7 separate regions of the Homo sapiens genome follow, and regions 1, 2, 3, 4, 5 and 7 are each linked to region 6. The links are contacts of gene promoters, found by promoter capture Hi-C in human tissues and cell types (Jung and others, 2019). All regions are on one chromosome and are shown on one strand. Each heading gives the region's core, a stretch centred on a gene start or on the middle of the fragment in contact. The rest is flanking DNA. Distances are from core to core; before and after follow the strand shown.

Region 1 (3,772 bases), core at 906-3,405, 360 kb after region 6:
TGTTCTTCTATTACTTTTATGGTTTTACCTTTCACATTTAAGTGTTTTGTACACTTGGAGTTTATTTATGGTGTGAAATAGAGAGACCTTTTTTTTTTTTTTGAGCAGGATTTCTCTCTGTCACCCATGCTGGAGTATAGAGGTGCCATCACGGCTCACTGCAGCCTCAGCCTCCTGGGGTCAAGCAATCCTCCTACCTCAGCCTCCTGAGTAGCTGGGACTACAAGCACATGCCACCATGCCTGGAGAGCCATTTTAAAAAATCCATTTAGTGAATCAGGTTTCCCAACTCTACATCCTTCCCTCACACATAACTGTGTCTCTTTCTGGACTCTATTCTATTCTGTCTCTCTATTTTGCCTGTTTGTATGACAGTGTCACGCTTTTTCTTGCTGTGGCATTGTAATGTCTGGTAGAGACAGTCTATTCCTTTGCTCCTCTTTTCTCAAAATCATGTTAATTGTTTATGAATCTTTAAATATTAAAAAGTATTTTTAGGCCAGGCGCAGTGGCTCACGCCTATAATCCCAGCACTTTGGAAGGCCGAGGCAGGCAGATCACTTGAACCCAGGAGTTCAAGACCAGCCTGAACAATAGGGAAAGACCCCGTCTCCCGTCTCTACCAAAAATACAAAAAAAAAATTAGCCAATCGTGGTGGTGCATGCCTGTAATCCCAGCTACTTGGGAGGCTGAGGCAGGAGGATTGCTTGAACTAGGGAGGTGGAAGTTGCAGTGAGCCAAGATTGCGCCATTGGACTCCAGCCTGTGTGACAGAGTGAGACCCTGTCTCAAAAAAAAAAAAAAAAAGTTTTTAAAAATTATTTTCAGGATTCAAGTCCGCATCCTCTTGCCTTTGGCAAGAGGGCAATGGAAGAGTCATCTAACATTCCTGGGACCCCATGTGCACCTTTTGGGAAAAATTATTTGTATGAGAAAAAAAGAATAATAGTGGTATTTAATCTCCGGAAACTACATAGAAATCCATCATCAGGGACATTTGCCCAAATTAAGAAAACTGCTGGATGAATCAAGGTTTCTGAAATTGTATTCCTCGTACCATAAAGTAATAAAATAGGCCGGGTGTGGGGGCTCAACCCTGTAATCCCAGCACTTTGGGAGGCCCATGCCTGTAATCCCAGCTCTTTGGGAGGCCAAGGCTGGTGGATCACCTGAGGTCAGGAGTTCAAGACCAGCCTGGCTAACATGGCGAAACTCCATCTTTACTAAAAATACAAAAATTAGCCAGGCATGGTGGCACTTGCCTGTAATCCCAGCTACTTGGGAGGCTGAGGTAAAAGAATCACTTGTACCTGGGAGGTGGCAATTGTAATGAACCAAGATTGCACCACTACACTCCAGCCTGGGTGACAGAGTAAGACTCTGTCTCAAAATAAAATAAAATATAGCAGAGCAAGACTTTTAATGCACAACCCCTTCATTTTAAATGAACATCTTATTTAAAATAAAACAAACACAAACCAAAGACCTTCAAATGAATGATCTCTCTAGTAGTTTGCGTGTATTTTCTTACTTTTTGGCATTTAAATAAATTTCTTTTGCTTTATTTTTAAGTACGTAGGCTTAAGTTTGTCTCTCATCACCACAGTGGAATCTGAGAATTGCTATTTGTAATGTTTAACAAGTAAGAACAATGCATGCTGTTCTGTAGAGGGTAGGGTAGGTGAAGCTGGATACCTATAAAATTTTGAGTATTAAGAAAAGTGCTCTGGGCCAGATGCAGTGGCTTACCCCTGTAATCCCAGCATTTGGGAGACCAAGGTGGGTGGATCACCTGAGGTCAGGAGTTCGAGACCAGCCTGGCCAACATGACAAAACCCCATCTCTACTAAAAATACAAAAATTAGCTGGGCGTGGTGGCACATGCCTGTAATTCCAGCTATTCGGGAGGCTGAGGTAGGAGAATCGCTTGAACCTGGGAGGCGGAGGTTGCAATGAGCTGAGATCTTGCCACTGCACTCCAGACTGAGCAACACAGTGAGATTCTGCCTCAAAAAAAAAAAAAATGTTCTGGACTCACCCCCAGAGACCCTCCAGTTACTATGCCTAGGGTGCAGCTCAGCAATCTGTGTTTTTACAACCACGTCAAGTGATTCTGCTATCCCACGTTTTGAGAAGTACAATAAACACAGTCCTTTCTACTTGGTTGCTGGCTTAAAGATGATGTGGACAACTGGGATAAGGTTTCAGGCCACAAATAGAATGGTTAGAATTTGAGAGGACTCAAGAGAGCCTTAACCATAACTGAGGAAAGTGAAGAATTTGTCAGAAGTGATACGTTTCACAAGCTTTGCTCTTAAATAACTGCGTTAGAACTGTAACTGCCACATCGTAGCTTTGAAATGTAATTGGGAACATTTCTCATCATTTAAAAAAAACTTCTTGAATCTTAAAAATTAAAGAAGTTTTCCCAACCTGGTTTTAAAAGCTGCATATTTGAAATTAAAAATATTTATTTATTTATTGTGTTAGTCCATTTTCACGCTGCTGATAAACATATACCCAAGACTGGGAAGAAAAAGAGGTTTAATTGGACTTACAGTTCCATATGGCTGGGGAGGGCTCAGAATTATGGTGGGAGGTGAAAGGCACTTCTTACAGGGTGGCAGCAAGAGAAAATAAGGAAGAAGCAAAAGTGGAAGCCCCTGATAAACCCATCAGATCTCACGAGACTTAATCACTATTACGAGAATAGCTTGGGAAAGACCGCCCCCATGATTTAATTACCTCCCCCTGGGTCCCTCCCACAACATGTGAGAATTCTGGGAGATACAATTCAAGTTGAGATTTGGGTGGGGACACAGCCAAACCATATTATTTATTTATTTATTTACTGGAGATGGAGTCTCACTCTGTCACCCAGGCTGGAGTCCAGTGGTATGATTGCAGCTCACTGCAACCTCTGCCTCCCGGGTTCAGGTGATTCTCCTCCCTCAGCCTCCTGAGTAGCTGAGATTACAGGCTCATGCCACCAAGCCTGGCTAATTTTCGTATTTTTAGTAGAGACAGTTTCACCATGTTGGTCAGGCTGGTTTTGAACTCCTGGCCTCAGGTGATGTGCCCACCTCGGCCTTCCAAAGTGCTGGGATTACAGTCGTGAGCCACCACACCCGGCGTCCTCCAGGAGTTTTCAAACAGAAACTTAGGAGGGAGAATCAGCACGTCACTGTTGGTGGCCTCCTTGGATGTGAGGCTCAGGTGCTGCCAGGAAGCAGGGCTGTTGTCTCAGAGCACAAAGTCAACATGCAGAAGGAGCAAGACTGAGGGCAAAATGCTTATAGAAATATTTCTCTACAGAGTCGAGTGGCTGTGAAATAGGAAGCAGTTACTCCAATCACCAAAAGTTTAAACACACAAAGTCAAACTGTGCATGAGCTTTCCTTTCCCAGTGCTAGAGAAAATTCCAGGGACAGGGCTTGATCTGAGAGGTTTATCAGGATTTCCAGAAAGAGGTGTAAATGGAGGGTGGAGTCTCCATAACAGAGGAGCAAATTCAAGCATGCATGCAATCAATCCAAGTGGCAAGTGGGAGATCAGCGATGCTGGGAAGTTTGCTTGTTTGTGTTTTCAATGAATGTTTATTGAGCACCTATTATGTCCCTGAAACTGTTCTAGGTGTTGGCAATGCAGCAGCTATGGAGGCAGATGAGGTCTCTGCAGTCATGAAGCTTTCATTGTACTGGAGGGAGACAGGGAATGAACAAACAAACAAGAAACAGACTCATGGGAATTCTAGATGGAGATGTATTCTGT
Region 2 (3,519 bases), core at 110-2,609, 380 kb after region 6:
ATTGGGTGCACATATATTTAGAATAGTTAGCTCTTCTTGTTGAATTGATCCCTTTACCATTATGTAATGGCCTTCTTTATCTTTTTTGATCTTTGTTGGTTTAAAGTCTGTTTTATCAGAGACTAGGATTGCAATCCCTGCTTTTTTTTGCTTTCCATTTGCTTGGTAGATCTTCCTCCATCCCTTTATTTTGAGCCTATGTGTGTCTCTGCATGTGAGATAGGTTTGCTGAATACAGCACACTGATGGGTCTTGACTCTTTATCTAATTTGCCAGTCTGTGTCTTTTAATTGGGGCATTTAGCCCATTTACATTTAAGGTTAATATTGTTATGTGTGAATTTGATCCTTTCATTATGATGTTAGCTGGTTATTTTGCCCATTAGTTGATGCTGTTTCTTCATAGTGTCGATGGTCTTTAGAATTTGGCATGGTTTTGCAGTGGCTGGTACCGGTTGTTCCTTTCCATGTTTAGAGCTTCCTTCAGGAGCTCTTGTAAGGCAGGCTTGGTGGTAACAAAATCTCTCAGCATTTGCTTGTCTGTAAAGTATTTTATTTCTCCTTCACTTATGAAGCTTAGTTTGGCTGGATATCAAATTCTGGGTTGAAAATTCCTTTCTTTAAGAATGTTGAATGTTGGCCCCCACTCTCTTCTGGCTTATAGAGTTTCTGACGAAGAGATCAGCTGTTAGTCTGATGGGCTTCCCTTTCTGGATAACCTGACCTTTCTCTGTGGCTGCCCTTAACATTTTTTCCTTCATTTCAACCTTGGTGAATCTGACAATTATGTGTCTTGGGGTTGCTCTTCTTGAGGAGTATCTTTGTGGTGTTGTCTGTATTTCCTAAATTTGAATGTTGGCCTGCCTTGCTAGGTTGGGGAAGTTCTCCTGGATAATACCCTGAAGAGTGTTTTCCAGCTTGGTTCCATTCTCCCTGTCACTTTCAGGTACAGCAGCCAAATGTAGATTTGGTCTTTCCTGTAGTCCCATATTTCTCGGAGGCTTTGTTCGTTTCTTTTTACTCTTTTTTCTCTAAACTTCTCTTCTTGCTTCATTTCATTAATTTGATCTTCAATCACTGATACACTTTCTTCCACTTGATCGAATCGGCTACTGAATCTTGTGCATGTGTCACGTAGTTCTCCTGCCATGGTTTTCAGCTCCATCAGGTCATTTAAGGTCTTCTTTACTCTGTTTATTCTAGTTAGCCACTCATCTAATCTTTTTTCAAGGTTTTTAGCTTCCTTGCGATGGGTTCAAACATCCTCCTTTAGCTCGGAGAAGTTTGTTATTATTGACCTTCTGAAGCCTACTTCTGTCAACTCGTCAAAGTCATTCTCCATCCAGCTTTGTTCCATTGCTGGTGAGGAGCTGCCATCCTTTGGAGGAGAAGAGGCACTCTGGTTTTTAGAATTTTCAGCTCTGATTTCTCCCCATTTGTGGTTTTATCTACCTTTGGTCTTTGATAATGGTGACCTACAGATGGGGTTTTGGTGTGGATGTCCTTTTTGTTGATGTTGATGCCATTCCTTTCTGTTTGTTAGTTTTGCTTCTAACAGTCAGGTACAGCTGCTGGTCTGTTGGAGTTTGCTGGAGGTCCACTCCAGACCCTGTTTTCCTGGGTATCACCAGTGGAGGCTGCAGAGCAGCAAATATTGCAGAACAGCACATATTGCTGCCTGATCCTTCCTCTGGAAGCTTCATCCCAGAGGGGCACCCACCTATTTGAGATGTCAGTCAGCCCCTACTGGGAGGTATCTCCCAGTTAGGCTACATAGGGGTTCGGGATCCACTTGAGGAGGCAGTCTTTCTGTTCTCAGAGGTCAAACACTGTGCTGGGAGAACCACTGTTCTCTTCAGTGCTGTGAGACAGGGATGTTCAAGTCTGCAGAAGTTTCTGCTGCCTTTTGTTCAGCTATCCCCTGCCCCAGAGGTGAAGTCTACAGAGGCAGGCAGGCCTCATTGAGCTGTGGTGGGCTGCACCCAGTTCGAGCTTACCAGCTGCTTTTTTTTACCTACTCAAGCCTCAGCAATGGCAGACGCCCTTCCCCTAGCCAGGCTGCCGCCTGTAGCTCAATCTCGGACTGCTGTGCTAGCAGTGAGCAAGTCTCCATGGGCGTGGGACCTGCTGAGCCAGGTGTGAGATATAATCTCCTGGTGTGCCATTTGCTAAGACCATTGGAAAAGTGCAGTATTTGGGTGGCAGTATCCCGATTTTCCAGCTGCAATCTGTCACGGCTTCCCTTGGCTAGGAAAGGGAATCCCCCCAACCCCTTGCACTTCCCTGTTGAGCTGATGTCCTGCCCTGCTTCGGCTGGCCCTCCATGGGCTGCACCCACTGTCCAACCAGTCCCAATGAGATGAACCAGGTACCTCAGTTGGAAATGCAAAAATCACCCGTCTTCTGTGTCGATTGTGCTGGGAGCTGCAGACCAGAGCTGTTCCTATTCGGCCATCTTGGAACCGTGAGATTCTCTAAAGTGCTAATTTTTGCATTTTTAATAGAGACGGGGTTTCACCATGTTGGTCAGGCTGGTCTCAAACTCCTGACCTCGTGATCCGCCTGCCTTGGCCTCCCAAAGTGTTGGAATTACAGCAGTGAGCCACTGTGCCCAGCCATAATTTTTGTACTTTTAGTACAGACAGGGTTTCACCATGTTGGCCAGGCTGGTCTCAAACTCGTGACCTCAAGTAGTCTGCCTACCTTGGCCTCCCATAGTGCTGGGTTTACAGGCGTGAGCCACCCTGCCTTGCCTGTGTGTGTTCTTTGGATTCAAACACACTGCTGCTCTAGAGTATATGAGTATGACTGAGAAAACATTTATTTCAAAAAGATTAAAATAAGACACCACACTAGAATATAAAAAGAACTGTTACAATCAATAATAAAAAAGACAAATATCCAATTATAAATGGGCAAAGGACCAAAGGACCAAAATAGACATTTCTCCAAAGAAGATATACAAATTTCCAATAATCACATGAGAAGATGCTAAATATCATTAGTCTTCAGGGAAATGCGAATCAAAACCACAATGAGATACCATTTTGCACCTGCTAGGATGGCTACATCAAATTGACATATAACAAACGTTGATCAGACATAAAGATAGGAGCAATAGACACTGGGGACTCCAAAAAGAGGGAGGTGGGGCAAGGGCTGAGAAACTTCCTATTGGGTACTATGTTCACTACCTGGGTGATGGGATCAATAGAAATCCTAACCCCAGCATCACACAATATACCCTTGTAACAAACCTACATGTGTACCCTCAATCTAAAATAAAAAAATTTAAAAATGAAATAAAAGGATTAGCTGCGGGGGGGTGGGGGGGAACAACAAGTGTTGGTGAGGATGAGAGAAATTGGGACCTTCCTGCCTTGCTGGTGGGAATATAAAATGGTGCAGCCACTTTGGAAAATAGTCTGGCAGTTCCTCCAAAGGTTAAACACAGAGTTACGATATGACCAGCAATTCCACTCCTAGGTATATACCCAAGAGAAATGGAACACATGTCCAC
Region 3 (3,587 bases), core at 565-3,064, 320 kb after region 6:
TGGCTTTTTTTTTTTGAGATGGAGTTTCACTCTTGTTGCCCAGGCTGGAGTACAATGGTGCAATCTTGGCTCACCGCAACCTCCGCCTCCCGGGTTCAGGCGATTGTCCTGCCTCAGCCTCCTGAGTAGCTGGGATTACAGACGCATGCCACCATGCTGGGTTAATTTTTTGTATTTTTAGTAGAAACGGGGTTTCACCATGTTAGCCGGCTGGTCTCGAACTCCTGACCTCAGGTGATCTGCCTGCCTTGGCCTCCCAAAGTGCTGGGATTACAGGCGAGGGCCACTGCACCTGGCCTCTTGGATCTATTTTAATCATTATCTTTCTCAGGTATCTCTCTAATGCCCATCATCCTTAATCTATTTTTTATAAGAACATTTCATTATTATTCAACAATTCGGAAGCATAAAACGACCCAGTGGAGTAGCCATTTCATTTCTCTTACTTACTGATCTATACTCGAGCAAGTTTGTCCAACGTGTAGCCCACGGGCCACATGTGGCCCAGGATGGCTTTGAACGTGGCCCAACACAAATTCGTAAACCTTCTTAATAACATTATGAGATTGTTTTTGTAATTCTTTTTTAAGCTCATCAGTTAGTGTATTTTATGTGTGGCCCAAGACAATTCTTCCAATGTAGCCCAAGGAAGCCAAAAGATTGGACACCCCTGTTCTAGATGATTTCTATAGCTCACACTTTACTTTTGGAGAACAATTTTTTCAGAAAGAGCCATTGATGCTTCAGCCTTATTTAAAACCAAACAAACACAAACTCACTATAATGACGGTGACAGGCAACACTGTATTATAGGTTTTCCTAACAAAACCTGTAATACTACTTTCAGACCAGAAGACCAACTGTTATGTGGAACTATAAAGAAAATTCCTTAATCAGTATCTTTAAAACAGAAACCAGAAGGATAATGACAGTAGTCTCTAATAGAGAAAATAGTGCTGGAGTTGATAAAAATTGAATTAAATCATTTTTTCCTTCTCCAATTCCAGCCCTATTCAATCATTTTCTGATTCCTCAACTGTTAAGATAAGCCTAGACTGGTCAGGCACTGTGGCTCATGCCCGTAATCCCAGCACTTTGGGAGGCCAAGATGGGCAGATCACTTGAGGCCAGGAGTTCAAGACGAGCCTGGCCAACATGATGAAACCCTATCTCTACTAAAAATACAAAAATTGGCCCAGCTCACGCCTGTAATCCCAGCTACTCAGGTGGCTTATGCACGAGAACCACTTGAACCAGGGGAGGCAGAGTATGCAGTGAGCTGAGATTGCACCACTGCACTCCAGCTTGGGTGACAGAGCGAGATCCTACCTCAAAGTAAAAAATAAAAGCATACATAATGTCAAAAAACAACCACACAAAGCTACCCCACCCACCTGTAATAAAACAGGTCACTTTATACCTGGCTCAGACCAGATTTTTGCTGGTGGCTAAAGAATGCTTTATGGATCAAAGGGCAGGTTGAGATTGCCTACTTACGTTCATTCCTTCCAAGCATCTTACCATAAACATCTGCCAAGGTTATGACGAGCATGTCACTAGGTTGCATTTTATTAGTTGCTGCCAACAGCTCTTACTTCTGATGGAAAAGAATTTAACAACAACAAAAAAACCCAGTATACTCCAACTTATGCTTTTTCTATGCTTTTATCACCAAATGATAGTACATCCATATATAACTCTAGATATTTGTTTTATAGTCCACACACTTGCTAGTTAAAATGTATTATCATAAGCCACAGTCTGTTCAGAATTACTTGGGTAAAATGCTATGTCACCTACAAACCCTCATCTGATTAATATGGAGGTTGTAATCACTGTCTCAATGGTTTCAGGCTCGTGAAACTTCTCATGCTATTTTCTTACGCCTGTGCTGGCTGGCTGACGGCCAAGTCCTCTGCCTCTGCCACTGCCTCAACCCATAAGCATGCTACAGTGCAGTCCAACCTTTTTTGGTCTTGCCGACCCAAGAGCAGTGTAAACCAGTTGAATCCAACTGCATCACAGTCACAGCAGGCAGGAAATTTCAAGGATCGTTAAGTTTAAGATTTGCCAACCTAAGATCAAGTTATAGGTTTTAAAGTGATTTCATTATCGCAAAAGGATAGCTTGGCTGCTGAGTGTGATTTTCCTATGTTCACATGTACTCCATGGGATTCTAAAACAGAAAATTAAATCTGAACATAAATGATCTGCCAGTTCTCCAAATGACAGGCTTGTGGCAAAATAGGAGAGGCAGTGTCATTTTCAAATCATGTAGCTAGAATCTGATCCAAGTCCATAATCAACGTCTTCCCTATTTTCCTTTGGTCCTTCAGTCTGTTATTACTGTTATTACCTTCTTCCCCACAGACAAATGGAAAATTCAAACATGTTTCTACTTGACATATACGCTGCAATCTTCCTTTCACACTGGCACTCACTATGGTTTTCACGAGAAGAGGTGGCAAACAGGTGAACATCTCACAGAATGTAGCTTCCAAAAATGCTGTTTTGGGCCAGGTTCGGTGGCTCACACCTATAATCCCAGCACTCTGGGAGGCCGAGGCGGGCGGATCACGAGGTCAGGAGTTTGAGACCAGTCTGGCCAACAGTGAAACGCCGTCTGTCCTAAAAATACAACAAAAATTAGCTGGGCGTGGTGGGGGAGCGCCTGTAATCCCAGCTGCTTGGGAGGCTGAGGCAGGAGAATTGCTTGAACCCAGGAGGTGGAGGCTGCAGTGAGCCAAGATCGCACCACTGCACTCCAGCCCAGGTGACAGTGTGAGACTCCGTCTCAAAAAAAATAAAAAATAAAAAATAAAAAAAGCTGTTTTTACTTGACTGGATATGTTGGTGTGGAAAGCAAAAATAATGCAATGATATGAAAAGTAATGGTATCTTATTTATTTAGAGTCTTACTCTGTCACCCAGGCTGGAGTGCAGTTGCGTGATCTCAGCTCACTGCAACCTCCATTTCTCCAGTTCAAGCAATTCTCTTGCCTCAGCCTCCTAAGTAGCTAGGAGTACAGGAACCCACCACCATGCCCAGCTAATTTTTGTAATTTTAGTAGAGACAGGGGTTTCACTATGTTGGTCAGGCTTGTCATGAACTCCCGGCCTTAAGTGACCCACCTGCCTTGGCCTCCCAAAGTGCTGGGATTATAGGTGTGGGCCACTGCGCCCGGCCAGTGTATTTTAAAATTATAAAGCCGATATATTACAAAGTAAAATGCAGGGGAAAAAAAGTCACAAGAAGTATAAAGATTAGATGCTTCTTGTGCTTCTTTTTGTAAAATACAGATGATCCTCAAGAAGTAACTTGAGCAGATTTTCTACTGGCTTTCAAATTGATAACCCTACACCCCCTATAAATTTTTACATTCCTTAACAGAGCTAACCATAGGAACTTCCAAATAATTTCTCAGTGGAAATGAGTCTTCAAAATCACACATGGCTCATAAGAGTTTTGCTTTTTTAATGCCTTCTCAAAGGACCCAGACTGCTAGATTTTCATAATAACTACTTTAACCAGATAGACTTACTATAGGCTGGTAGTTCCCCACTAAAAGATACTTTTCTCTTGCTTA
Region 4 (3,758 bases), core at 1,202-3,701, 270 kb after region 6:
GACTTCAGCCTTAGAGTGAAGGGGAGGTGCTGAAGGGGCATGGCAGGAGTACACACTCAGAATGGCACTGCCAGAGAGCTCCTAGGCTGAAGAGTGAAGGAAGGTCGGGCAGCACACCAGGGGTATGGCCAGAACCCAAGGAGAGGCAGCAGGATGGAGGGAAATGGGCTGATTCCAGGGTTGTCTGGAAGGCAGAACAGTGATGGCATGGATGTTGGGAAAGAGGGAGGGGGAAGAGTCAAGGGCAGTTAGGAGGACCGTGCAGCCATGCCCTGAGAAAGATTTCCACAGGGAAGAGTGAGATGGGCATTCCCGTTCTCCTCCTCTTTCTATGACTAAGGAACGTTGCGTTGGCCCACCCAACTGTTGGACTTTATAGTGGGCTGCGGGCGGGAGAACTGCTGGGGCGCTGGCTGGGTTTCTTTTTCTTCTTTTCAGAGATGGGGTCTTGCTCTGTCACCCAGGCTGGAGTGCAGTGGCACAATCACAGCTCACTGCAGCCTCCAACTCCTGGGCCCAAGTGATCCTCCTGCCAAGTAGCTGGGACTACAGGCATGCACCACTAGGCCCAGCTAATTTTTCAAATATTTTGTAGAGACAGCCTCACTGTGTTGCCCAGGCTGGTCTCAAACTCCTGGGCTCAAATGCTCCTCCTGCCTTGGCCAAAGTGCTGGGATTACAGGTGTGAGCCACCAGGCCTGGCAGGCTGGGTTTCTATGGAAAGTGCTGAAAGGTAGATGAGGTTATTTGAATGGTGGAAGTTGGGAGTGAGGGGAAGGCAGCAGCCGCCACACATGCAAGGACAGGGACACACACACACACACACACACCCCCACACCCACACCCACACACACGTACTTAGGGAAACAGGCTTTCAAACGTTTTGCTACATCAGTGTAATTTCCTGCATTCATTTCGTAGGGCTGCCATTGCTACAAACTTCGTGGCTTGAAACAAAAGACATTTATTCTCCCACAGGTCTGGAGGCTACAAGCCTGAAACCCAAGTGTCAGCAGGGCCACAGTCCTCCTCCAGCTTCTGGTGGCTTTGATCAGATCACATTACTAGATTAGTGCAAAAGTAATTGCGGTTTTGCTGTTAAAGGTAATGGCAAACTTTTAATGGCAAAACCGCAGTTACTTTCGCACTAACATATAAGTTCCAAGTGTTCTTTCTCTATTCTAAATACAAGTCCTTTATCAGATTTATGATGTGCAAATATTTTCTCCCATTCTGTGGGTTGTCTTTTCACTCTTTTCACAGTGTCCCTTGAAGCATGAAAGTTTTAAATTTTGATGAAGTCCAATTTATCAAATGTTTCTTGGGTTGCTTATGCTTTGGATGTCATAGCTAAAAAATGACTTCCAAACCTAATCTAGTGAATATTTTCCCCTCTATTTTCTTCTAAGAGTTTAATAGTTTTAGCACGTATATTTAGCTTTATGTCTACCCAACGTTTTGAGTATAATAAGATGGGGGCCCACAAAGTGGCTAAATGAGTAAGATGAGATTGTGGGAAGGGCCTGCGCAGGCTTTGGAGACAGCTCCCGACACCCTCATCCTCTTCCCCATCCTTATCCCCGGGGTCCATATCCTGCAGGAGCTGCCACCTGAGGCTGGAATGCCTCTCATGGAAGGGCGTTCTTGAGAGCAGCTGAGAGGCCTGTCTCAGGTCTGCAGGGTTGAAGACAAACCCTAGAGCAAGACTGCAAGGCACAGGGCATGGTGGTTTATGCCTGTAATCCCAGCTACTCAGGAGGCCAAGGCTAGAGGATCGCTTGAGCCAGGGAGTTTGAGACCAGCCTGGGCAACATAGCAAGACCTCATCTCTAAAAAAATAAAAATAAAAAAAATTTGCCAGAAGTGGTGGTGCCTGCCTGTGGTCCCAGCTACTCAGAAGGCTCAGGCAAGAGGATCACTTGAGCCTAGGAGGTCAGGGCTGAAGTGAGCTATGATCATGCCACTGCACTCCAACCTGGGCAACAGAGTGAGGCCCCACCTCTAAAAACAAAAACAAAAAGAACTATAGGACAAGAGTCAAGAACCAGAGAAGTTGGTTTTGCAGAATGTACCAGAAACAGAGCTGGAGCAGACTGCCAGGGGGAAGGAGCATGTGGTCAAAAATGGAACAATCCGCCCACCAGAATAGCTGGCCAAAAACATACAACACAAAAAATAAAGTGAACAAATGAAAAACAGGTACGGCCAAGTATTGGTGAGCACGACAAGCAACCGGAACTCTCATACATGGCCCGTGGAAGCGAAAATTGTTCCAGTCACTTTGGAAAATGGCAAGTTTCTGCTAAGTTGAGCATATACCTTGCCTCTGACCCAGCAGTCCACATCTAGGTACATACCCAGCATGAATACACACATATGTTTCCCAAGACAGGTACAAGAATGGTCACAGAAGCAATATGCTTAATAGCCAACAAATGGAAATCACTTAAACATCCATCAGCAACAGAATGAATAAAGAAATTGTGGCTTACTTATACCATGGAATATATTATAGAGCAATGAGAATGAATGAACCACAACATGAATAAATCTCACGTACACAGCATTAACCAGAAGAAGTTAGAGCCAAAAGAATATATATTGTAATGTTATATTTATATAAAATACAGCCAGGCACGGTGGCTCACACCTGTAATCCCAGCACTTTGGGAGGCCAAGTCGGGTGGACTGCTTGAGCCCAAGAGTTCAAGATCAGCCTAGGAAACAATTAGACTCCGTCTCTGCAAAAAGACAAAAAAATCAGCCAGGCGTGGTGGCACATGCCTGTAGTCTGAGCTGGGAGGATCACTTGAGCCCAGGAGGTGGAGGCCGCAGTGAGCTGTGATTACATCACTGCACTCCAGCCTGGGTGATAGAGCAAGACCTTATCTCACAAAATAAAATAAAATAAAGTAGGCCGGGCACGGTGGCTCACGCCTGTAATCCCAGCACTTTGGGAGGCCGAGGCAGGTGGATCACTTGAGGCCAGGAGTTCGAGACCAGACTGGCCACCATGGTGAAACCCTGTCTCTACTAAAAATACAAAAATCAGCCAGGCATGATGGCGTGTGCCTGTTAGTCCTAGCCACTCTGGAGGCTGAGGCAGGAGAATCACTTAAACCTGGGAGGCAGAGGTTGAGGCAGAGGTTGCAGTGAGCCAAGATAGCGCCACTACACTCCAGCCTGGGCAATGGAGCAAGACTCTGTCTCAAAATAAAATAAAATAATAAAAAAACATAATATAAAATTAAATTAAATTAATACAATAAAATAAAATACAAAGCAGGAAAATTAATGCTGCTAGGGTTAGAAGAAGGGTCAGCCTTAGGGAGCATAGTGCCTGAAGGCAGCACAGGGCAGGAGCTGTTTGCATTCTCTTTCTTAATTTGGGTGCGCTTACGTGGATCTGCTCACGTTGAAAATTCATCAAACTGTCAACTTCTGATTTTGATTATTTTGGGCATGTATATTGAATCATAAAATTTACAACAACAAAAAACAGAACAAGCAGAAACTGGGTGTGATGCTATGGTCAGAGGTGGAATGGCGATGAGTCTCTGTAGGGCTGGCCCCAGCCCAGCGTTCCTCTTCTGTGGGGGTTGACAAACTCCCAGCCTTGGGGGTGGCATTTAAAGCAACAGGTCTCTTTCAAGCGAATGTGCGGAAGGTGAGGAGCAAATTAATTAATAAGTCCCTTCCTTTTTTCCCTCTGTCCACCGTTCCTCCTTTTATTTATTTATTCTTTGGGTTTTTGTCTT
Region 5 (3,452 bases), core at 224-2,723, 300 kb after region 6:
ACCTCTTAGTTAAGTTTTTGTTGTTTATAGGACATGCACATTTTGTGTCAAGCTTATATCTAGGTATTTTATAAATGACCATGAAAAAATTCACTCTCAAGCATTAAAGAAATGCAAATTATGAGAGAACAATGAGATCCTATTTTTCCTTTCAAACTAGGACATAGTTTTACAAATAATACTCAACCTCAGAACGGTGTAGTGAAAAGGGCATTCTCATATGCTTCTGGGAGGATATGCATTAGTCTATTTATGTCCATTCTGGAGGAAGGTTTGACATTTTGTATAATAAGAATTGAAAATGTTGGCCAGACATGTATACATATGTAACTAACCTGCACATTGTGCACATGTACCCTAAAACTTAAAGTATAATAATAATAAAATAAAAAAAAGAAAATTAAAAAAAAGAAAAGAAAAGAAAATGTTGGCCAGGTGTGGTGGCTCATGCCTGTAATCCCAGCACTTTAGGAAGCTGAGGCAAGACGACTGCTTGAGCCCAGGAGTTCAAAGCCAGCCTGGGCAACAAAGCCAGACCCTGTCTCTATTAAAAATAAATAATAATAAATTTTTAAAAAGAATTTAAAATGTTTATGTCCTTTTAAATGAAATCTTTCCTATCCAGTTTTCCTGTGCAGCTGCTTCATTCAAGCCTGCTTTTAGTTGGAGCCTAAAACAATGTGAATAAATGTCCTAAATCCATAATTAGCGGCCTAATATGATTTTTTTAAGAAGTCCATATCCTTTGGCTTAATGTATAAGGTCAGGGTCCTGGCCAGAAATAGGCCCGAGCATTTAGTTTATAATCAAAGTGATATTTCAAACCAGTGAGGAAATATTCTACTAAAAGAGAAAGGCTGGGCTGGGCATGGTGACCCACGTCTGTAATCCCAGCACTTTGGGAGGGCGAGGCGGGTGGATCATTTGATGTCAGGAATTCAAGACCAACCTGGTCAACATGGCGAAAACCCATCTCTACTAAAAATGCAAAACTTACCCGGGCATGGTGGCACGCGCCTGTAATCCCAGCTACTGGGAAGGCTGAGCCAGGAGACTCGCTTGAACCTGAGAAGCCGAGGTTGCAGTGAGCAGAGATTGTGCCACTGCACTCCAGCCTGGGAGACAAAAGCAAGACTGTCTCAAAACAAACAAACAAACAAACAAGAGAGAAAGCCTGAATAATGACATATGAAAAGTTGACTATTCAGAAAAAAATAAGTTTAGATCTTTATCTTCCAGTTTATATCAAAATTAGTCCCAGGTGGGTTTAAAAGCCAAATGAAGGAGTAAGAGGAAATGGAGGAAGGGAAGGGGGGAAGAGGAGCAGAAAAGAAAAAATATAGATCTGAAATGTCTGTGTGATACTCAGATGGGAGCAGTTTTACAATTAAAAAAAAACAAAAGGGAGAAAGAATAAAGGAAAACATCAAGGCCGGGAGTAGTGGCTCAAGCCTGTAATCCCAGCACTTTGGGAGGCCCAAGGCAGGCAGGTTGCTTGAGCCCAGGAGTTCAAGACCAGCCTGGGCAACATAGCGAGACCTCCTCTCTACAAAAGATACAAAAATTAGCCGGGCGTAGTGGTGTGCACCTGTGGTTCCAGCTACTAGGGAGGCTAAGGTGGGAGGATGGCTTGAGCCGGGAGGCGGAGACTGCAGGGAGCCAAGATCACGCCACTGTACTCCAGCCTGGGTGACAGAGTGAGGCGCTGACTCAAAAATAAAAAACTAAAGAAAGAAAAAGAAAAACATCAAAAGGTCATCCCACATCAAAATGTCGTGTGGTGTATCAAATATCACCAAAAACAAAATCAGAAGGTAAAATTCTAAGCTTAGAAAAATATTTGCAACACATTCGACAGAACTGACATTTTTAAAGTGCTTCTGTACGTCAACAAGAGAAAAAATAGAAAATAGAAAAGCAGACCAAGGATATGAATAGGCAACTCACAAAAGGAGAAAGTCAGATGTTCACAACTATTTTTAAAATGCAGCAGACACGTGGTCTTGGAGACGCAACAAGCAGGGCCGCGGACCAGGCGTTAGGTAGGAAAGGCATTCACCCCTTCTCCAGCTGCGGGGCGGGGCCCCGGGTCCCTCTCTGGAGGGGCCTCCAGGGAGCGGAGCTCTGGGATGCCGTTTCCCCGGGGCGTCTGGGAGGGGCTGGAGAAACAAGCATTTCCTAGGGCTGAGCCCACTTGCCCTCTAGGGGGTGACGATTTCTCTCCCAGTCTTCCCCCCGACTTGGCTGGACTCCGAGGGGAGGGCGCTGGCGCTTCCAATGGCACAGCAGCTCGTGGGGAGCTCGGGCGCTGCCTCTCGGGCGGCTTCCCCAGCCCTCCTGACTCGCGGCCACCGGAGGGCGGTGCTGTCCAGGAGACGCCGGAGCTGGGCGCTCACAAAGGCCCCTTTCTCCTCCACCGAAGATGAGTCATAGCCCAGGCGGGGTCGGAAGGGCAGCCGCTCCAAGGCGACTGCAGAGCCGCGACTGCAGAGCCACGCCTCCGAGTCACCCTGGACGCCTGCGCCGGCCGCGTCTGCTTCTCCTTGGCTTGGCAGGCCACAGGGAAAACTGGGTCAGGCCGGTGGCCTAGTTCGCTGGTTCACAGCGTGAACGCCGGCAGTAGGTGACTAGGAAGGGCATCTCCACTTACTGTCTGGCTCATTCACGTGACAAATATCTGAAGAGCCCCGTGACTGACAGCCAGTTGCTAGTGCACTCCCAAGGCCCGGGTCACCTGAGTTTAGAATGTGTCATCTCAATACCCTGGGGGCTGGGCCTGCCTGGGCAGGTCGCCAAATCACTGGTCTTGTCACATCTCAGGTTCAGTTGCCCACATTGCAAAACATCCCCTGGCCCCCTGGCATTGGATTCCCTTGTGATCTAACCCTGCCCCACCCCTCTGACTGGCTCCCACCAGGTGGCCTTCACTTTGGTCCCCACCCCTGCCTGGCAATCCCCCTCCCCACATCCTGCTCCTGTGAGCCCAGGCCTGTCCTATGGCGGCCTGCAGTGACCTTCCACACCCACCCGAGCCCATTCAGTCTCCTCTCTGCTTCTGACTCTGCCCTAGGATGTCTGAGGATGTCATTTGTTTTTCCCTCCAAAATTCTTTTTGCTAATAAGAAGGACACTTTTGACACCCGGTCCAAAGGTGTAAGCTCCTGGGCCTCAGTGGAGCCAGAAGCAGCCTGTATAGGCCTGGTCTGCTCAGCTGGACAGGAGGAGATCTGGTAGGGATGGACCACTCCAGAGGAGAGGAGGTCAGCCATGGGCCTGAGCAGCATGAAGACCTCATGTGCCAGGAGGGAGGTCAGCAAGGGTGTGAGACCAAGGAGGGCACTGAGTCCAGAGTGCAGTAGCCCTTCCTCTTCTTTCTTTTCTTTTCTCTCTTTTTTTTTTTTCAGATGGAGTCTCACTCTGTAGCTTAGGCTGGAGTGCAGTGGCACAATCTT
Region 6 (3,422 bases), core at 32-2,531:
GAGGAAACAGGCCTCCTTTCCCCATTCTTTCTCTCTGGAGTTTAGAAAGCAGAGCCGAGCTCTGCAGACCAGAACGTAGGCAGCCTCATTCTGGACTCAGTGTCACCAGGGGGCACTCAAGCCCGACCCTGGCCTCTGCTGAGGTGGGCCATGGCAGCTTCCCTCCCTCAGTACCCTGCCTCTGCCCACCCTCCCCACCCTGCCTCCCCACCCAGGAAGGACCCATCAGCCCACCCTCTCCAGCCCCTCGGGAAGCTCTTTGCCAAGGCGGGGTGAGATCCTATGACAGGAGCCGGCCCAGGACACAGTGACCCCTGAAGTCTCCTGGGCTCCTGGGGCTGCCACTCCCATCTGGAGGCATTTGGCAACTGGCCTCTGCCTCCCTGAGCCTCAGATTTTCCGTGTATGAAGGGGACTCATAAACCTCACAGGGTTTCAGCAAGGCACCTGCCGCCCTCTGACCCCACGCTGCAGGGACAGTCCTCACCCCCCTCTCACCTCTGAGACTGCCCCTCCACAGATGCCCTGAACATGCCCATGCCCAACCTTCAGAGCACAGACACCTCCTCGGGAGGTCTTCCCTGCTGCCCTCAGACACCCAATAACATGAAACACTCCCAAAGCACCTACAGTGTGTCAGGCACTGTTCAAACACACTAGATACACTACTTCCTTAATCCATATCCCAACCCTGGGAGTGGGGGGCTCAAGTATTATTCCCACTTCACAGATATGGAAACTGAGGCCCAGAGACCACCAGCCAGTAAATAGCTGGACCCAGGGAGGCCACCTTCACAGTAAGCACCCTTAACTACCATGCCGGGTAGCGTCCTTACTGTCCCAGAAGCGTGCTTGCTTCCTCTTTACATGAACCACCCCGCTCTACATGTCTTCCCCTGAGCACACAGGACAGGACAGGACAGGACAGCTCAGTCAACACTGTCAAAGCCATGACTCGTGGGAAGGAGCATCCCTCCAGGCATGAGTGAGCTCAGCACGGCACAGGTGTGCCAGGATGACCTCCTCTGATATTTCTGCCCTGCTTGTGTTCTCTTTGGGATGCCCCCACCCCCATCCCCTGCCACCCAGGAGTTGCTTCCTCAGAGCCCCAGAGCTGTGTCCCTCTGGCTGAGGCAGCCCTGTGCCCATAGCCCTGGAACTCACTGGACTCAGGTAGGGAGCCTGGGAACCGCTGAAGGCCATCTCTCCGCCGCCTCTGTGGCCACCGCTGCCTTTCACACCCACTAGGAAGTCCTTTGTAGAGGGAACGACTTAACAAAGAAATAGAAACCAAAGCAACTTGGCTGTTATTCAATGGGGAGGAGCCGGCAGCAAAAGGAAGTGGGTCCAGAGAGAGAAAGGTATGGTACTGGGTGGACTGGGGTGACACTCACAGAGGGAAGTAGGCACTCCCAGCCCCAGTGACCTTTCCCTCCTCCCTCTCCTGTGCTCAACCCAAGCCTGAAGCATATTTGGTTCATAGAGGTCTACAATGCTTGACCACACTGACATGACAGCAAGTTGCCAGATGACACTGCCCAGAAGTATGTGGCTGTGTGTCCTAAGCATGCTTGGCCACGGAGTCCAGAAAATAATGGGGCTGGGCATTGCCTGTGCACAGGGTGCTTGTGGGGAAGGGCGGCTTCAACCCATTTTACATACAGAGAAGCTGAGGCTCAGAGTCTAAGGGGCATGCCCCAGGTCACACAGCTAATTCGTGGCCGCCTGAACTTTATGAAGATTCTCAGACTCTTCAAAAAGTATTTCTCCTGTTTAAATTTATATTATTCATGTAAAAACATAATTATGTAGAGGGGAATATTTTGCAAGAAAAACACCATAATGAATATTTTTATTCTACAGTATGGGGTGCCCAGGAGCTTCTGATCCTCCCTCTCAATGAATCTCTCTTGATTCTCTTCTCCTTCTCTTCTCCATCCTTATTTTCTGCACTTTAGGATGAGGAGAGAAGTCTTGGACATGATAGAACATTTCAAGTGACATGGGGCTGGGAAGGAACATATGGCATGTGCAGGTCGTGGGGGAGGGAGCCATGAAATAAACTTACCTGAAGTCGACCAGGTCCCAGCGATGTGCTGGTGAGAAGGCCCAGAACTCAAGCTGGGTAGGGTAAGTGCTGGCAGGTAAGGGCTGTACGGGTGCGAGAGGATGGCAGGTGCCCCAGGGCCATACGTGAGTCTGCACCTCTCTTCCTTCCTGTGCTCCACCTAGATGCACTAGAATTTGCAGACTAATTCCTTTGAGATGCTCCAATAGACTGAGGCCATGTGTGCCATCTGCACTGTCCATCCCCATTATGTTCCTGGATCAAGTACCAGTTTAAGGAGTAGACAGTACAAGGGGAGCAGAAAGGAGAGAAAGGAAGGGAAATTCTTTGCGATCCTCTCGGACACCAGGGACAATTTCATCACGGCACATCATTTGTAGGCAATCACAAATTGATTGCGATACGCAACAACTGGAACTCTCATTCACAGCAGACTGGAGTGTAAAATAATCCAACTTAGAAAAATGGGCAGGGCGTGGTGGCTTATGCCTATAATACCAGCACTTTGAGAGGCTGAGGCAGGAGGATCACTTCAGCCCAGGAGCTTGAGACCAGCTCGGGAAAGGTTGGAAGACCCTGTCCCTACATATAATTTAACAAACAAATTAGCCAGGTGTGGTGGTGCACACCTGTGGTCTCAGCTACATGGGAGGCTGAGGTGGGAGGCTCACTTGACCCCAGGAGGTCAAGGCTGTAGTGAACCCTCATCACGCCACTGCACTCCAGCCTGGGTAATAGAGCAAGACTCTGTCTCAAAAAATTGAAAAATAAAAAATAAAAAGAAAAACTGCTTGGTGAGTTGTAATACAGTCAAATATCTACTTCTATGTTCTGGCTTTTCTACTTCTAAAAAATTACCCAAGAGAAAGGAAAACATATGTGCCTGTTTTTAACAGCTTTACTCATCATTGCCCCAGGCTGGAAACAGTGCAAATGTTCACCAAAGGAGAAGGGAGAAATGAATTGTGGTTTTCATACAACAGAGTAGCCCTCGGCAATAAAAAGGAGCTAGGCCACAGGAAACATCAATGGGCCTCGCAACTGAGCAGAAGAAGCCAGATCCAAACTTGACTTGAAGTGTTGTTCAAGTCAAGTTGAACAACAGGCCAGAATGGCGTCACCCTTGGGGGTCTCTGACTGGGAGGGGCAGGAAGGAGTCTTTGAGAGGCTGGAAATGTTCTGGATCTGGTTCTGGGTGGCGATCACACAGGTATTTACATCCATTAACAACAGGCTGAGGCTGGGTGCAGTGGCTGACACCTGTAATTCAGCACATTGGGAGGCTGAGGCGGGAGGATTGCTTGAGCCCAGGAGTTCGAGACCAGCCTGGGCAGCATGGCGAGACCTTGTCTCT
Region 7 (3,640 bases), core at 603-3,102, 430 kb after region 6:
AGAGCAAGACTCCATCTCAAAAAAAAAAAAAAAGAAGCAGTTCCTATAGTCACACATTTGTTTCTCATTGTTCCTATCTCTGCTGAGGGCCATGGCTTCTGCACAGTGGTCTGCTAACTCCAACTCTAGGCCTGAGTTCATCCACTTGGTAGAAAGAGTCTAGTTGCCTCTTCATAGGCCTCACTGGGAAGTGGGAGAAGGAGCTGGTCTCTTTCCCCTTCACCACACCACCCCAGGTTGTACAGATGGAACAACTCACTTTACTGGGCATGTTGGAACCATTGGAAAGGGAACCGAAATTCAGTAGAGGAAAGGTGAAAGTTCTTGATGAATCTGATTCTCCCAGTGTTACAAGGGAAAGTAGCACAAGATTAGGCCTTCACTGGGTTGGGGTAGAGGATTCTCCTAAGGTCTGGCCCTGAACGCCCCGCTTTCTCTGTAATGCCCCACTTTCTCTATCTTCTACTATAAGACTTTTGGGAAAACCTCTTTGAGTCACTGGAAATCACTGGGAAGACTCTGTTCCAGCTCTCTCCTCTCTCCAGACATGTCCTCACTCAAATGGGGGAACTCAGCAGGAGTATCAGCCCTGCTATGACAAGCAAGTCCTGAAGACCCATCAGAGGTAGCAGGAGCTGGGGAGAGGCTCAGACTCACCAGGATCTGAGGCTGAGGATGGATATGGGCCATCTGGGTCAGATTATCTTTGTGCTATTCCCTTTAGCAAACATGGCTGTGTTTGCACACACATCCTAAGGCATTTTCACAAATATCTAGTTTCTAGATTTTATTGCGGGATATTTGGTTTTTCACTATAGGCATCAATGGGCTATGAAACGTCCCATTGTAGATTCTATAAAAAAGTCTTACTGTGGGGACCAGCCCCACAGGGTCGGTAGGTCTCTCCCTGTGTGCAGCGATGAGAGAGTGTAGAAATAAAGACACAAGACAAAGAGACAAGAGAAAAGGCAGCTGGGCCCGGGGGACCACTACCACCAATGTGCGGAGACCAGTAGTGGCCCCGAATGTCTGGCTGCACTGTTATTTATTGGATACAAGGCAGAAGGGGCAGGGTAAAGAATGTGAGTCACCTCCAATGATAGGTAAGGTCACGTGGGTCACGTGTCCACTGGACAGGGGGCCCTTCCCTGCCTGGCAGCTGAGGCAGAGAGGGAGAGGAGACAAAAGGAAAGACAGCTTACGCCATTATTTTGCATATCAGGGACTATTAGTATTTTCACTAATTTACTACTGCTATCTGGAAGGCAGAGCCAGGTGTACAGGATGGAACATGAAGGCAGACTAGGAGTGTGACCACTGAAGCACAGCATCACAGGGAGATGGTTAGGCCTCCGGATAACTGCGGGCGAGCCTGACTGATGTCAGGCCCTCCACAAGAGGTGGAGGAGCAGAGTCTTCTCTAAACTCCCCTGGGGAAAGGGAGACCCCCCCCCCCCCACCCTTTCCCGGTCTGCTAAGTAGCGGGTGTTGTTCCTTGATGCCTTTTGCTACCGCTGGACCATGATCCGCCTGGTAATGGGCGTCTTCCCAGATGCTGGTGTCACCGCTAGACCAAGGAGCCCTCTGGTGGCCTTGTCCGGGCATAACAGAAGGCTCGCACTCTTGTCTTCTGGTCACACCTCACTATGTCCCCTCAGCTCCTATCTCTGTATGGCCTGGTTTTTCCTAGGCTATGTTATAGAGTGAGGATTATCATAATATTGGAATAAAAAGTAATTACTACAAACCAATGATTAATGATATTCATATATAATCATATCTAAGATCTATATCTGGTATAACTATTCTTGTTTTATATTTTATTATGCTGGAACAGCTTGTGTCCTCTGTCTCTTGCCTCGGTGCCTGGGTGGCTTGCTGCCCACATTACCAACCTGCTGAATCAAAACAACGGTTTGACTCTGTGAAATGAATGAACACATGGCAAAGCATTTTCACTGATAGCTTGTTTCTAGTTTTTATCTTGGGATATAGGTTTTTTCACTATAGGCCTCAATGGGCTCCAAAAAGTCCCTTTGTAGATTCTAAAAATAGAGTGCTTCCAACCTGCCTTTCGTAGATTTTACTAAAAGAGTGTTTTCAACCTTCTTAATTAAAATAAAGGTTTAAATCTGTGAGATGAATCCACACTTAGCAAAGCATTTTCACAGATAGATTGTTTCTAGTTTTTATCACGGGATATGTGGTTATTCACTATAGGCCTAAATAGGCTCTGAAGTGTCCCTTCTTAGATTCTACAAGAAGAGCGTTTCCTATCTGCTGAATCAAAACAAAGGTTTAACTCTGTGAGATGAATCCACACATCACAAAGTATGTGCACAGATAGTTGTTTCTAGTTTTTATAGTGGGATGTTGGGTTTTTTACTGTAGGCCTCAATGGGCTCTAAAATGTCCCCTCATAGATTCTACAAAAAGAGTGTTTCCAACCTACTGAACCAAATAAAGGTTTAACCCTGTAAAATAAATCCAAACATTGCAAAGCATTTTCATGGATAGCTTGTTTCTAGTTTTAATCACAGGATATTTGGTCTTTCACTATAGGCCTCAATGGTCTCCAAAATATCCCTTTGTAGATTTTACAAAAAGGATGTTTCCAGCCTGCTGAATCAATACCAAGGTTTAACTCTGTGAGATGAATCCTCACATCAGAAAGCATTTTCACCAATAGCTAGTTTCTACTTTTTATCGTGAGATATTCAGTTTTTCAGTATAGACCTCAATGGCTTAGAAATATTGCTTCATAGATTCTATGAAAGAGTGTTTTTTAACCTGCTGAATCAAAACAAAGGTTTAACTCTGTAAAATGAATAAACACATCACAAAGCATTTTCACTGATAGCTTGTTTCTAGTTTTTATTGTGGGATATTCGGTTTTCCACTGTAGGCCTCAATGGGCTCTAAAATGTCTCTTTGAAGATTCTACCAAAAGAGTATTTCCAACAAGCTGAAACCAAACAAAGGTTTAATTCTGAGATGAATCCAAACATCACAAAACATTTTCACATATAACTTGTTTCTAGTTTTTATCATGGGATATTTGGTTTTCCACCATAGGCCTCAATGGGCTCCGAAATGTCCCTTCGCAGATTCTACAAAAGAGTGTTTCCAATCTGCTGAATTAAAACAAAGATTTAACTCTGTCAAATGAATCCTCACATCACCAGGCAGTTCACGGATAGCTTCTTTCTAGTTTTAATTGTGGGATACTCAGTTTTTCACTATAGGCCTCAATGGGCTCCAAAATGTATCTTCGTAGATTTCATAAAAAGAGTGTTTCCAACCTCCCCTTTGTAGATTTTACAAAAAAAGTGTTTCCATCCTGCTGAATCAAAACCAAGGTTTAACTCTGTGAGTTGAATCCACACATCACCAAGCATTTTCACAGATAGCTTGTTTCCAGTTTTTATAGCAGGATATTTTGTTTTACAAATATAGGCCTCAATGAGCTCTGAAATGTCCCTCCATAGATTGTGCCACAAGAATGTTTCCAACCTGCTCGATCAAAACAGAGGTTTAAGTCTGTGAGATTCATCCATTGCAAAGCATTTTCCCAGATAGCTTGTTTCTAGTTTTTATCGTGGGATATTTCATTATTCACTATAGACTTCAATATGCTCTG

What was found. The method cuts DNA at HindIII sites, captures the fragments that hold promoters and counts their contacts. A contact is called where the count stands out against the background at its distance.
Region 1: a fragment that was not itself captured here is called in contact with the fragment with the promoter of LGALS9 in region 6 in 3 of the 25 tissues and cell types used here (hippocampus, lymphoblastoid cells and mesendoderm cells).
Region 2: a contact is called between a fragment that was not itself captured here and the fragment with the promoter of LGALS9 in region 6, in 4 of the 25 tissues and cell types used here (bladder, lymphoblastoid cells, mesenchymal stem cells and 1 more).
Region 3: a contact is called between a fragment that was not itself captured here and the fragment with the promoter of LGALS9 in region 6, in 5 of the 25 tissues and cell types used here (H1 embryonic stem cells, lymphoblastoid cells, mesenchymal stem cells and 2 more).
Region 4: a fragment that was not itself captured here is called in contact with the fragment with the promoter of LGALS9 in region 6 in 3 of the 25 tissues and cell types used here (lymphoblastoid cells, mesendoderm cells and spleen).
Region 5: a contact is called between a fragment that was not itself captured here and the fragment with the promoter of LGALS9 in region 6, in 4 of the 25 tissues and cell types used here (dorsolateral prefrontal cortex, lymphoblastoid cells, spleen and 1 more).
Region 7: a contact is called between a fragment that was not itself captured here and the fragment with the promoter of LGALS9 in region 6, in 4 of the 25 tissues and cell types used here (aorta, lymphoblastoid cells, small bowel and 1 more).

Annotation. Positions count from the first base shown.
Region 1 is chr17:27,269,606-27,273,377 of GRCh38, reverse strand. No RefSeq gene overlaps it. Among named protein-coding and RNA genes, the nearest start is that of MIR4522, 23 kb to the left of the region's middle. The HindIII fragment of the contact is 6,167 bases long and covers 1-3,772 here.
Region 2 is chr17:27,248,156-27,251,674 of GRCh38, reverse strand. No RefSeq gene overlaps it. Among named protein-coding and RNA genes, the nearest start is that of MIR4522, 44 kb to the left of the region's middle. The HindIII fragment of the contact is 3,454 bases long and covers 1-3,086 here.
Region 3 is chr17:27,313,893-27,317,479 of GRCh38, reverse strand. It overlaps WSB1 (WD repeat and SOCS box containing 1), which reads right to left. Exons shown (of 9, transcript NM_015626.10): 9 at 1,554-3,587. Among named protein-coding and RNA genes, the nearest start is that of LINC03146, 17 kb to the left of the region's middle. The HindIII fragment of the contact is 8,167 bases long and covers 1-3,587 here.
Region 4 is chr17:27,357,911-27,361,668 of GRCh38, reverse strand. No RefSeq gene overlaps it. Among named protein-coding and RNA genes, the nearest start is that of LINC03146, 27 kb to the right of the region's middle. The HindIII fragment of the contact is 7,286 bases long and covers 1-3,758 here.
Region 5 is chr17:27,331,923-27,335,374 of GRCh38, reverse strand. LINC03146 (long intergenic non-protein coding RNA 3146) reads right to left here and starts at 2,880. Exons shown (of 3, transcript XR_007065677.1): 1 at 1,948-2,880; 2 at 998-1,115. RefSeq lists an enhancer at 2,280-2,829. The HindIII fragment of the contact is 3,899 bases long and covers 1-3,422 here.
Region 6 is chr17:27,629,047-27,632,468 of GRCh38, reverse strand. LGALS9 (galectin 9) reads right to left here and starts at 1,281. Exons shown (of 11, transcript NM_009587.3): 1 at 1,165-1,281. The coding sequence starts at 1,203. RefSeq lists enhancers at 1,252-1,371, 839-1,656. The HindIII fragment of the contact is 14,549 bases long and covers 1-3,422 here.
Region 7 is chr17:27,195,661-27,199,300 of GRCh38, reverse strand. No RefSeq gene overlaps it. Among named protein-coding and RNA genes, the nearest start is that of MIR4522, 97 kb to the left of the region's middle. The HindIII fragment of the contact is 6,719 bases long and covers 1-3,640 here.